Linked DNA regions of Homo sapiens: region 1 is linked to region 2. Evidence: promoter capture Hi-C in 16 types of primary human blood cells and fetal thymus (Javierre and others, 2016). All regions are on one chromosome and are shown on one strand. Each heading gives the region's core, a stretch centred on a gene start or on the middle of the fragment in contact. The rest is flanking DNA. Distances are from core to core; before and after follow the strand shown. Region 1 holds the start of MAZ (MYC associated zinc finger protein). Region 2 holds the start of TBX6 (T-box transcription factor 6).

Region 1 (4,101 bases), core at 687-3,186, 290 kb before region 2:
TGCTAATATTACCACTGGGTACTGAGTAGTACCTCTCTTTCACTAGTTGCATAATAAGAATTAACCCAGAGAGTGACCTGAGGGCGGGATTTTGGACACACTTGACAAGAGAGGAAGAGGCTGGAGCGCAGGAGGTAGCTGGTGCTGGGCTCCTAGTCTTGGCAGAGGAGCCCAAAGCACTTGGCTGCCCTGCGTGTCACTCATCTCCCTTTGCCTCCCAGCTGGAGTCCCTGGATGCCCTAGAGCCTGAGGAGAAGGCTGAGGACTGCTGGGAGCTACAGATCAGCCCGGAGCTACTGGCTCATGGGCGCCAAAAAATACTGGATCTGCTGAACGAAGGCTCAGCCCGAGATCTCCGCAGTCTTCAGCGCATTGGCCCGAAGAAGGCCCAGCTAATCGTGGGCTGGCGGGAGCTCCACGGCCCCTTCAGCCAGGTAGCAGCCCACTGGACTGGGGGAGGGCGGGGGCGGGGGAGACCGGGTACCCCCGAGACCCTGTCCCCTATCGATCCTGTCCCGCCAGGTGGAGGACCTGGAACGCGTGGAGGGCATAACGGGGAAACAGATGGAGTCCTTCCTGAAGGTGAAGTCACGGCCCTGCCCCTCCTCTGCCTGTCCTGCGCCCCGCGCCCCTCTCTAACGTCGCTGTCTCCCTCCCTCCTGTGTTGCAGGCAAACATCCTGGGTCTCGCCGCCGGCCAGCGCTGTGGCGCCTCCTGACCGTCGTCTCCTCACTCCGCCTTTTCAAATTTTTGTATAACCCCGTGTTGTGTAAATACAGTTTTTGCTCCGGTGCTTCCGCCTGATTTTTGGGGCTGCGGGGGCGGGACCGGGGTGTGACCGCCTCGGGGTGGGCCGCGAGCAAGGCAGGCGACTCCACTGGGCGCCATCTTCGGGGAACGACTCAGCGCAGGATTGTAAATACACCGCTGGGGTGGGGCGGGGAGGACGGTGGCCTGCAGGACGCAAAAAGCGGAAGCCGAAGCATGAGGCCTGCGACCGTTAGGCGGGCGCGCGCTCAGGGATTAGCCCCGCCCCGTCCGTGCCCCCGGCGCGCGCGCTCCCCCATTCTCCCGCTCGGCAACGACGGCGGCCTTGTGCGCGTGCGCGCGAAATAACGGCCGCTGGCGGAGGGAGGGGGAGTGGAATCGTTGGCGGGGGGAAGAGGAGAGAAGCCGCCCTGTCTCCCGCGCGCCCACCACCTGCGCCATCGTCAGCCAATCAGCAGCCGTCTCAGGGGTCTCGCGCTCGGGGCGACTCGGGCTGCTGGGTGGCTCCCCCGTCCCTCCTCCCGCCAGAGTCCCTCTCGCGCCTGCCCCTCCCGCTGGCCACGCGCGCGCTCGCGCTAGCGCTCGCGCCCGCTCCAGCCTCTTGTGTGTCCTCGCGCCCCCCGCCCGCCCTCCCCGCGCGTAGTGTGCTCCGCTTCCCCCACCCTCCACCTCCCCCCTCCTGCCCGCCCCGCGCGCCTCCTCCCGGGTTCCCCCTCCCCCACCGCCGCCGCCTCCTCCTCCCGCCCCAGGGTGAGCGCGAGCCACCTCCCTCCCTCCCTCCGCCATGGATCCCAGCAACTGGAGCAGCTTCATCTTCCAGGTAACAACTCCCTCCCCCCGCCCCCACCCCCCTGCCCACACCCCCTCCTGCCCGCCCTCCCTCCCGTCCCACCCCCCCTCCGCGCGCCCGGTGCGCGCGCAGCTGTCCCCCTCCCTCCCTCGCGCCCTCCCCCGCCCTCCCCGAGGCGCCGGCTGGGCGCGCGCGCGGCGGGGGCCGAGGCTGCTCCCTCGCTCCCCCCACCCCGCCCCGCCAGGCTCCAACCGCCGCCGCCGCCGCCGCCGCCGCCCGGGCCCCCGCCCCCGGCCCCGGCCCCGCGGGGCCTCCCGCCCCCACCCAGGGGGCGTCGCCGCCGCCGTCGCCGCGGCGCTCCGCGGCCCGCAAGGCGCCCTCTTTTCCTCCCTCCCGCCGGCCGGGGTGCGCGGGCGGCGGGGCGGCCCGCGGGCCATGCGTTCGGCGCGGCCCAGCCCGGCCGGCCGGGGGCGGCGCCCCGAGCCCGGGCCCCGCGCGGCCCGCGCCCCCGGCCCCCGCTGAGCCCCGGGGGCCCCGCTGCGGCCGAGGCCATGTTCCCGGTGTTTCCTTGCACGCTGCTGGCCCCCCCCTTCCCCGTGCTGGGCCTGGACTCCCGGGGGGTGGGCGGCCTCATGAACTCCTTCCCGCCACCTCAGGGTCACGCCCAGAACCCCCTGCAGGTCGGGGCTGAGCTCCAGTCCCGCTTCTTTGCCTCCCAGGGCTGCGCCCAGAGTCCATTCCAGGTGAGTAGGGCCGGCCGCGGCGGCCCGGGCTGGGGGGGGACGCCCGCCCGCACCCGCGGCCCACTCGGCGCCTTGTCTCCGCAGGCCGCGCCGGCGCCCCCGCCCACGCCCCAGGCCCCGGCGGCCGAGCCCCTCCAGGTGGACTTGCTCCCGGTGCTCGCCGCCGCCCAGGAGTCCGCCGCGGCTGCTGCGGCCGCTGCCGCCGCTGCTGCCGCCGTCGCTGCCGCGCCCCCGGCCCCTGCCGCCGCCTCTACGGTGGACACAGCGGCCCTGAAGCAGCCTCCGGCGCCCCCTCCGCCACCCCCGCCAGTGTCGGCGCCCGCGGCCGAGGCCGCGCCCCCCGCCTCCGCCGCCACTATCGCCGCGGCGGCGGCCACCGCCGTCGTAGCCCCAACCTCGACGGTCGCCGTGGCCCCGGTCGCGTCTGCCTTGGAGAAGAAGACAAAGAGCAAGGGGCCCTACATCTGCGCTCTGTGCGCCAAGGAGTTCAAGAACGGCTACAATCTCCGGAGGCACGAAGCCATCCACACGGGAGCCAAGGCCGGCCGGGTCCCCTCGGGTGCTATGAAGATGCCGACCATGGTGCCCCTGAGCCTCCTGAGCGTGCCCCAGCTGAGCGGAGCCGGCGGGGGAGGGGGAGAGGCGGGTGCCGGCGGCGGCGCTGCCGCAGTGGCCGCCGGTGGCGTGGTGACCACGACCGCCTCGGGGAAGCGCATCCGGAAGAACCATGCCTGCGAGATGTGTGGCAAGGCCTTCCGCGACGTCTACCACCTGAACCGACACAAGCTGTCGCACTCGGACGAGAAGCCCTACCAGTGCCCGGTGTGCCAGCAGCGCTTCAAGCGCAAGGACCGCATGAGCTACCACGTGCGCTCACATGACGGCGCTGTGCACAAGCCCTACAACTGCTCCCACTGTGGCAAGAGCTTCTCCCGGTGTGCACGGGGCCTCGGCCGCCCGCTAGGCCGTGGGGAGGGAGGGACGCGACGGAGGTGGCCTGGCCGTGGCTGGCGGGGAGGGAGGCGGCTGCTGAGGCTGGGGAAGGGGAGCCACTCCCAGGGCGGAGGGAGGAAGCCTCTCCCGGTTACCAGGGAGCAAGGGGTGGTCCTTTGTCGAGGAGGTGGGCCTTGGGGTTGACGGAAGCTTCGCGTGGGAGGAGGCGGCGGCGGCGGCAGCGGCTGCTGGGCTCCAGGGGAGGGATTTCCTGCTTAAGTGTCGCTGTGACGGCCTGGGCTCCGGGAGGAGGCGCAGGGATCCTCGGAAAGGCCTGTGGTGCGGTTTGGTGGATTTGGGGCGCACCACCTCCGCCCTAACCCCAACCCCAACGTGTCCCCAGGCCGGATCACCTCAACAGTCACGTCAGACAAGTGCACTCAACAGAACGGCCCTTCAAATGTGAGGTAGGAAGCCCGCCTCCTCCTGTCTTGGTTTTCATGATTTTGATCCTCATGGTAGCTGTCTGAGTCAGTCTCTCAGACCCCCTTTTTCTCTCTCTTCTTTTTGCCTTTTTGCTCCATTTTCTCATCCCTTCTTCAAGGCCTCATCATGTCACTCCCATTTCCTACAGATCAAAGATCCCCAAGGCTCTGATTCCTTTAATCTCTTGCTCCCCCCTCCCCAGCCCACCAAGCTTTAACTCTCCTGTGACACCCCCCACGCCCCTCCCCCCTCCTCAGAAATGTGAGGCAGCTTTCGCCACGAAGGATCGGCTGCGGGCGCACACAGTACGACACGAGGAGAAAGTGCCATGTCACGTGTGTGGCAAGATGCTGAGCTCGGCTTATATTTCGGACCACATGA
Region 2 (4,471 bases), core at 220-2,719:
AGCCACACACTAACCTATAACCCAGAGGGACTTCCTGACCCTGCCCCAGACTGACCCATGACCCTTGCCATAGATTGGTCCCTAAACTCAGCCACAGACTCCACAGACTGGCCCTTAACCCTTGTCACAGAGTGACTCCTGATTCCTGCCACAGAGTAACCCTTGCCCCAGGCCATAGTCAGATTCTAGGCCTAGGCAGAGCTCTAGCCCCTCGGGAACCACCCAGTCCTAGCCCCCTCCCCAGGGACTCTGCCTTTCCCAAGAGACCCCCACCAGAAACACGGACCCTGGCCAGCCCCTCACCTCCCAGCTTTGGTGATGATCATTTCTGTTCCCACAGAGCTGAACTCCTTCCATAGCTCCCGGTTCTCCAGGCTCAGGCTGACCCCCGGGAGGGAATGGAGGGCCTCTGGAGCTGATGGGGCCGGCTCAGTGCCCATGGCAGGGGGCAGAAGGGGCAGAGGTGGGTGCGCGGCCAGGGTGCGGGGAGCAGCCTCCATCCCGGAGAGGAAGCAATCCAGTTTAGGGGTGTCCAGTTCTGGAAGCCGGGGAAGAATGAGGAGCCAGCCGAGGGCCACAGCCCCCCTATTCTCCTACCCAGGAGCTGGTCCCAACGCTCACCGGGGTAGCGGTAGCCCTCCGCTAGGGCGGGTGGGAAGCTGGAGTCGGCCCCAGGTTGGGCGGGCCCCAGGCGGTAGCCGGCCCCCAGGGACGGGTACAATTCTCGTGGATGGTACATGTTGTAGTTCCGTCTGGCCTCAGGTCTCGCTGCTTAGGGCCCCCGGTGCTGCGAGATGCCCCCTTTATAGCTCACAGCTCAGCCCCTTCCAGATCCAGGATCACAGCCCCTCCCCTCTTTGGGGCCCTGGAGTTGGGCTGGGGTGGAGACCCCTGGGGCCTCGAAGGGGTCCGAGAGGGGGTCGGATACCTGGGTACGGTCCCCTCCTCCCCTCCCTCCCCACCCCGGGAGGCTTCATTAGCCTCGACCCCCTGCCCCCTCATTACATAATTAACTCCTCGGCTTGATTGATCCCCAGGGCTCGGACAGGGACGCAGTTTGGCGCTTCCGGCCAGCTGGTCCCCGTTCCCACGGTGGGGAGCCCCGGCTAGGGATAAGCTGGGGGGCGGGGCCTGGAACCTGGACGGAGCCAAGAGTCCCGGGACACACCTTGGCGCCCCAGACCTTCTGGCAGGTGACCGCCCTCCGCCCCCCTTCACTTGGAGGCCGGGCCCTGGAGGGAAGCAGCGTGAACAGAGGGAAAGTGCAGGCTAGAGGGACGCGGCCTGAGCTGATTTCACAGGGCACTCGGGGCCGCGAGGAGGCCGCAGCCCAGTCCCGAGCACCGTAGTCCTCCCTGGTCCCCATGCTAAAAAAACCTCCATCCCGAGCCAAGCCTCCAAAGTTCGAAGGCGCTCACAGTCCGACAGCTTCTGACGCCTCGCGCCAGGGTTTCCCGAAGGTCCCGCGCTGGGGAACCCTCGGAACTACACTTCCCGGCAGGCTCAGCGCTGAGGCGCGCCCGAAGGAGCCGGACGGACCACGCGGGGGCCGCTGGGAGTTGCAGTCCGACCGCGAGGGGGCTGCGAGGCCGGCGGCGCGGTTGCCTCCCTGGGACGCTGCCCCTAGGCGGCGGCCAAACGCTGCAGATGAGCAGACGCAGATCAGCCGAGGTCACGGCGTAGGCAGCCAGAGTGGGCTCAGGACCTCCGCCAGCAGTGAAACCGTCCCGGTTCCCGGAGACCCAGCTTGGACGGCTGTGCCTACCCCATGCCCCGCCGGGGCTCAGAACCGCACAGGTCTATAGGGGCGGAAATCTCCGCTTGAGCTCCCCCTTCCCGGATTACACGCGAGCCTGAGCTGTCTCCACTCCATTGTTTTATTATGTACAAACGCTACAGAACGAGGGGGACAGACACGCGTGGGGTAAGAAGGGCCTGGTGGGAGGAGTTCACAGAGCAGACGGTGCACTGGGACCAGGAGAGCAGAACACAGGCCATAACTATAGGGCAGGTGGGGCAGGAACGGGTTAAAAACGAGATCCAAGCCAGCCAGATCGCAGGAGGTGCGGGGGCGTCGTCCCCCTTCTGTTCTCCCCCCAAGGTCACAGTGCATGCAATAAAATATATATACAGGAGCTAGATCCGTCCTCTGCAGGGGCTCTGAGGGTCCAGAGCTCCCTTCGGGTGGCGGGAAGCCAGTGGCGCTCCCTGGCGGCCAGGCCGGGCTGGAGCCACATGCGTCGGGGGAGCGGGGGTCAGTCCCAGCCGTTGTCTTTGATCATGTGGTTGAGTTCAATGATGTACTTCCCCTCTTTGTACTTCTGGCTGCTCTCAAAGGCCTGTTCCTGAAAGGAGGGGCGGGACCGTCATCCCCGGAGCAACAGTCTCACCACAAGGCACTGGGGTTGGGAAGTGGACATGAGTGGCCCCATTTTACATATGAGGAAACTGTGGCCCAGAGGGGCAGGGCCGTATTTCTCACAAACACAGAGTAGAATAGAACTCCCTGACTCAAAGGTACTTTTTTAAGTACTAATGATGGCTCCAACAGAGAAGATAGGGAAGTGGCTAAAAGATTTCACAGTTCAGGGTTTGCAAACTGGTAGCTTCATGGCCATTTTGGCCTACAACATGTATTATGTTTGGACAGCAGACAGTTTAATAAAAATAACTTTAAAGTATTAAAATATAAGTAGGCCTTGCTCACTCCAGTTTGCCCAGCCTGCCCCCAACTCCCAACCCTGCCAATCTATGCTACCCTTTACACATCTACAGTATCTGCTTGGCCTTGCAGGCACTTGAGGTTTTTTTGTTTGTTTGGTTTTGAGAGGGAGTCTTGCTCTGTCGCCCAGGCTGGAAGTGCAACGGCGCGATATCGGCTCACTGCAACCTCCGCTTCCCGGGTTCAAGTGATTCTGCTGCCTTGGCCCCGAGTAGCTGGGATTACAGGCGCCCACCACCACGCCGAGCTAATTTTTGTATTTTTAGTAGAGATGGGGTTTCACCATGTTAGTCAGGCTGTTCTCGAACTCCTGACCTCAGGTGATCCACCTGCCTCAGACTCCCAAAAGTGCTGGGATTACAGGCGTGAGCCACCACACCCAGCCTGGCACTTGAGTTTTTGACCTCTTGTTTAGGCCAGCTCTTTATTAATTATTATTATTTTTGAAACGGAGTCTCGCTCTGTCTCCGCTCACTGCAAGGCTCTGCCTCCTGGGTTCACGCAATTCTCCTGCCTCAACCTCATGAGTAGCTGGGACTAGAGGCGCCCGCCACCACACCCAGCTGATTTTTTTTTTTTTTTTTTGTATTTTTGGTAGAGATGGGGTTTCACCGTGTTAGCCAGGATGGTCTCAATCTCCTGACCTTGTGATCCACCCGCCTCGGCCTCCCAAAGTGCTGGGATTACAGGTGTGAGCCACTGTGCCTGGCCGGCCAGCTCTTTATTTGGTAGAGGTCCAGAGTGGCCAAGCCACCTGTCCAGAGACACACAGCCAATCTGTGGCAGGGTCAGCAGCGAGCTCAGGTCAGGGCTGGCTGGCTGGCTCTGCCTGGGACATCCACCTCACAGAGGCACCACAGTTCCAAGCGACGCCTGAAGAATCCTGTCCCTTGCAGTGTCCCAAGAGCATCTTCCTGAGCATCTAATCTGATCCCTGTAACAATCCTGGGTGCTAGGCAGTGGCTTTATCTTCCACTGAGAGATAAGGAAATGAGACTCAGGGTAGTGAAATCAGACCCTGGACAGCAGCAGTGGCAATGAGGACTATGGAAAGGGAGGCTGGTGAACCCAAGCTCCATGTTGTTGCAGAGTCTGGGGCAATTTTTCTGATACTCTAAATGACAATATAAGCTGGTGACCAAGGGTTTGGAGTGAAAAAAAAAAACCAACCAACCAACTCAGATTCTGGTCCCTATTCTGTTACTTACCAGTTGGGTGATCTTGGGCAAGTTACCTAACATCTCTGGGCCTCCCTGTCTTCTTCTGTAGAGATAATAATAGCTTCTACCTAGAGGATCACTGCAATGATTGAATGAGATAATAGACGCCAGGCACACAACAGTGCAAGGCACATAAACATTCCATAAATGGTGACTCTGATTATATCCTAACTCTCTAATGGGGATCCAAGTGCCTGGGAGAGAAGGGATGGGTTAAGAGAAAAGTTCTACACCCCTTGCAAGGTGCAAGATAAAGAGAATGTGGTCAGGGATGCTGACTTGTGTGAGCTCGGCCTATGCAATCTGAAAGGCTATAGGGTGACAGCTTGTCAGGAGGAGGTGTTGGAAGGTCAGGTCAAAGGCTAGCCTGGGGTCAGAGGTGGGTGACTCACATATTTCCAGCCCAAAGTGGTCTTGCAGTTCTCGCAGTGGATGTCGGCGACAGCATGGAGGCCGGTCAGCAGCACCCGCTCCTCGGCTGGCCCGCAGCCCACGTTCACCCTGTGGGGACATGGGGTAGTCCCAGGGA

The links. The method cuts DNA at HindIII sites, captures the fragments that hold promoters and counts their contacts. A CHiCAGO score of 5 or more calls a contact.
Region 1: the fragment with the promoter of MAZ here is called in contact with the fragment with the promoter of TBX6 in region 2 in 1 of 17 cell types (neutrophils); the score reaches 6.5 in neutrophils.

The regions. Positions count from the first base shown.
Region 1 is chr16:29,804,593-29,808,693 of GRCh38, forward strand. It overlaps MAZ (MYC associated zinc finger protein), which reads left to right and starts at 1,937. Exons shown (of 5, transcript NM_002383.4): 1 at 1,937-2,301; 2 at 2,386-3,236; 3 at 3,638-3,701; 4 at 3,978-4,101. The coding sequence starts at 2,110. It overlaps KIF22 (kinesin family member 22), which reads left to right. Exons shown (of 14, transcript NM_007317.3): 12 at 222-434; 13 at 523-582; 14 at 671-792. The coding sequence ends at 718. MVP-DT (MVP divergent transcript) reads right to left here. Exons shown (of 4, transcript NR_186424.1): 4 at 4,052-4,101. RefSeq lists silencers at 438-487, 1,228-1,567, 1,698-1,837, 2,738-3,407 and enhancers at 868-917, 3,488-3,727. The HindIII fragment of the contact is 3,714 bases long and covers 1-3,442 here.
Region 2 is chr16:30,090,455-30,094,925 of GRCh38, forward strand. TBX6 (T-box transcription factor 6) reads right to left here and starts at 1,470. Exons shown (of 9, transcript NM_004608.4): 1 at 1,419-1,470; 2 at 622-787; 3 at 304-538. The coding sequence starts at 739. It overlaps YPEL3 (yippee like 3), which reads right to left. Exons shown (of 4, transcript NM_031477.5): 3 at 4,335-4,443; 4 at 1,860-2,345. The coding sequence ends at 2,256. RefSeq lists enhancers at 1-807, 1,940-2,129 and a silencer at 1,460-1,719. The HindIII fragment of the contact is 24,011 bases long and covers 1-4,471 here.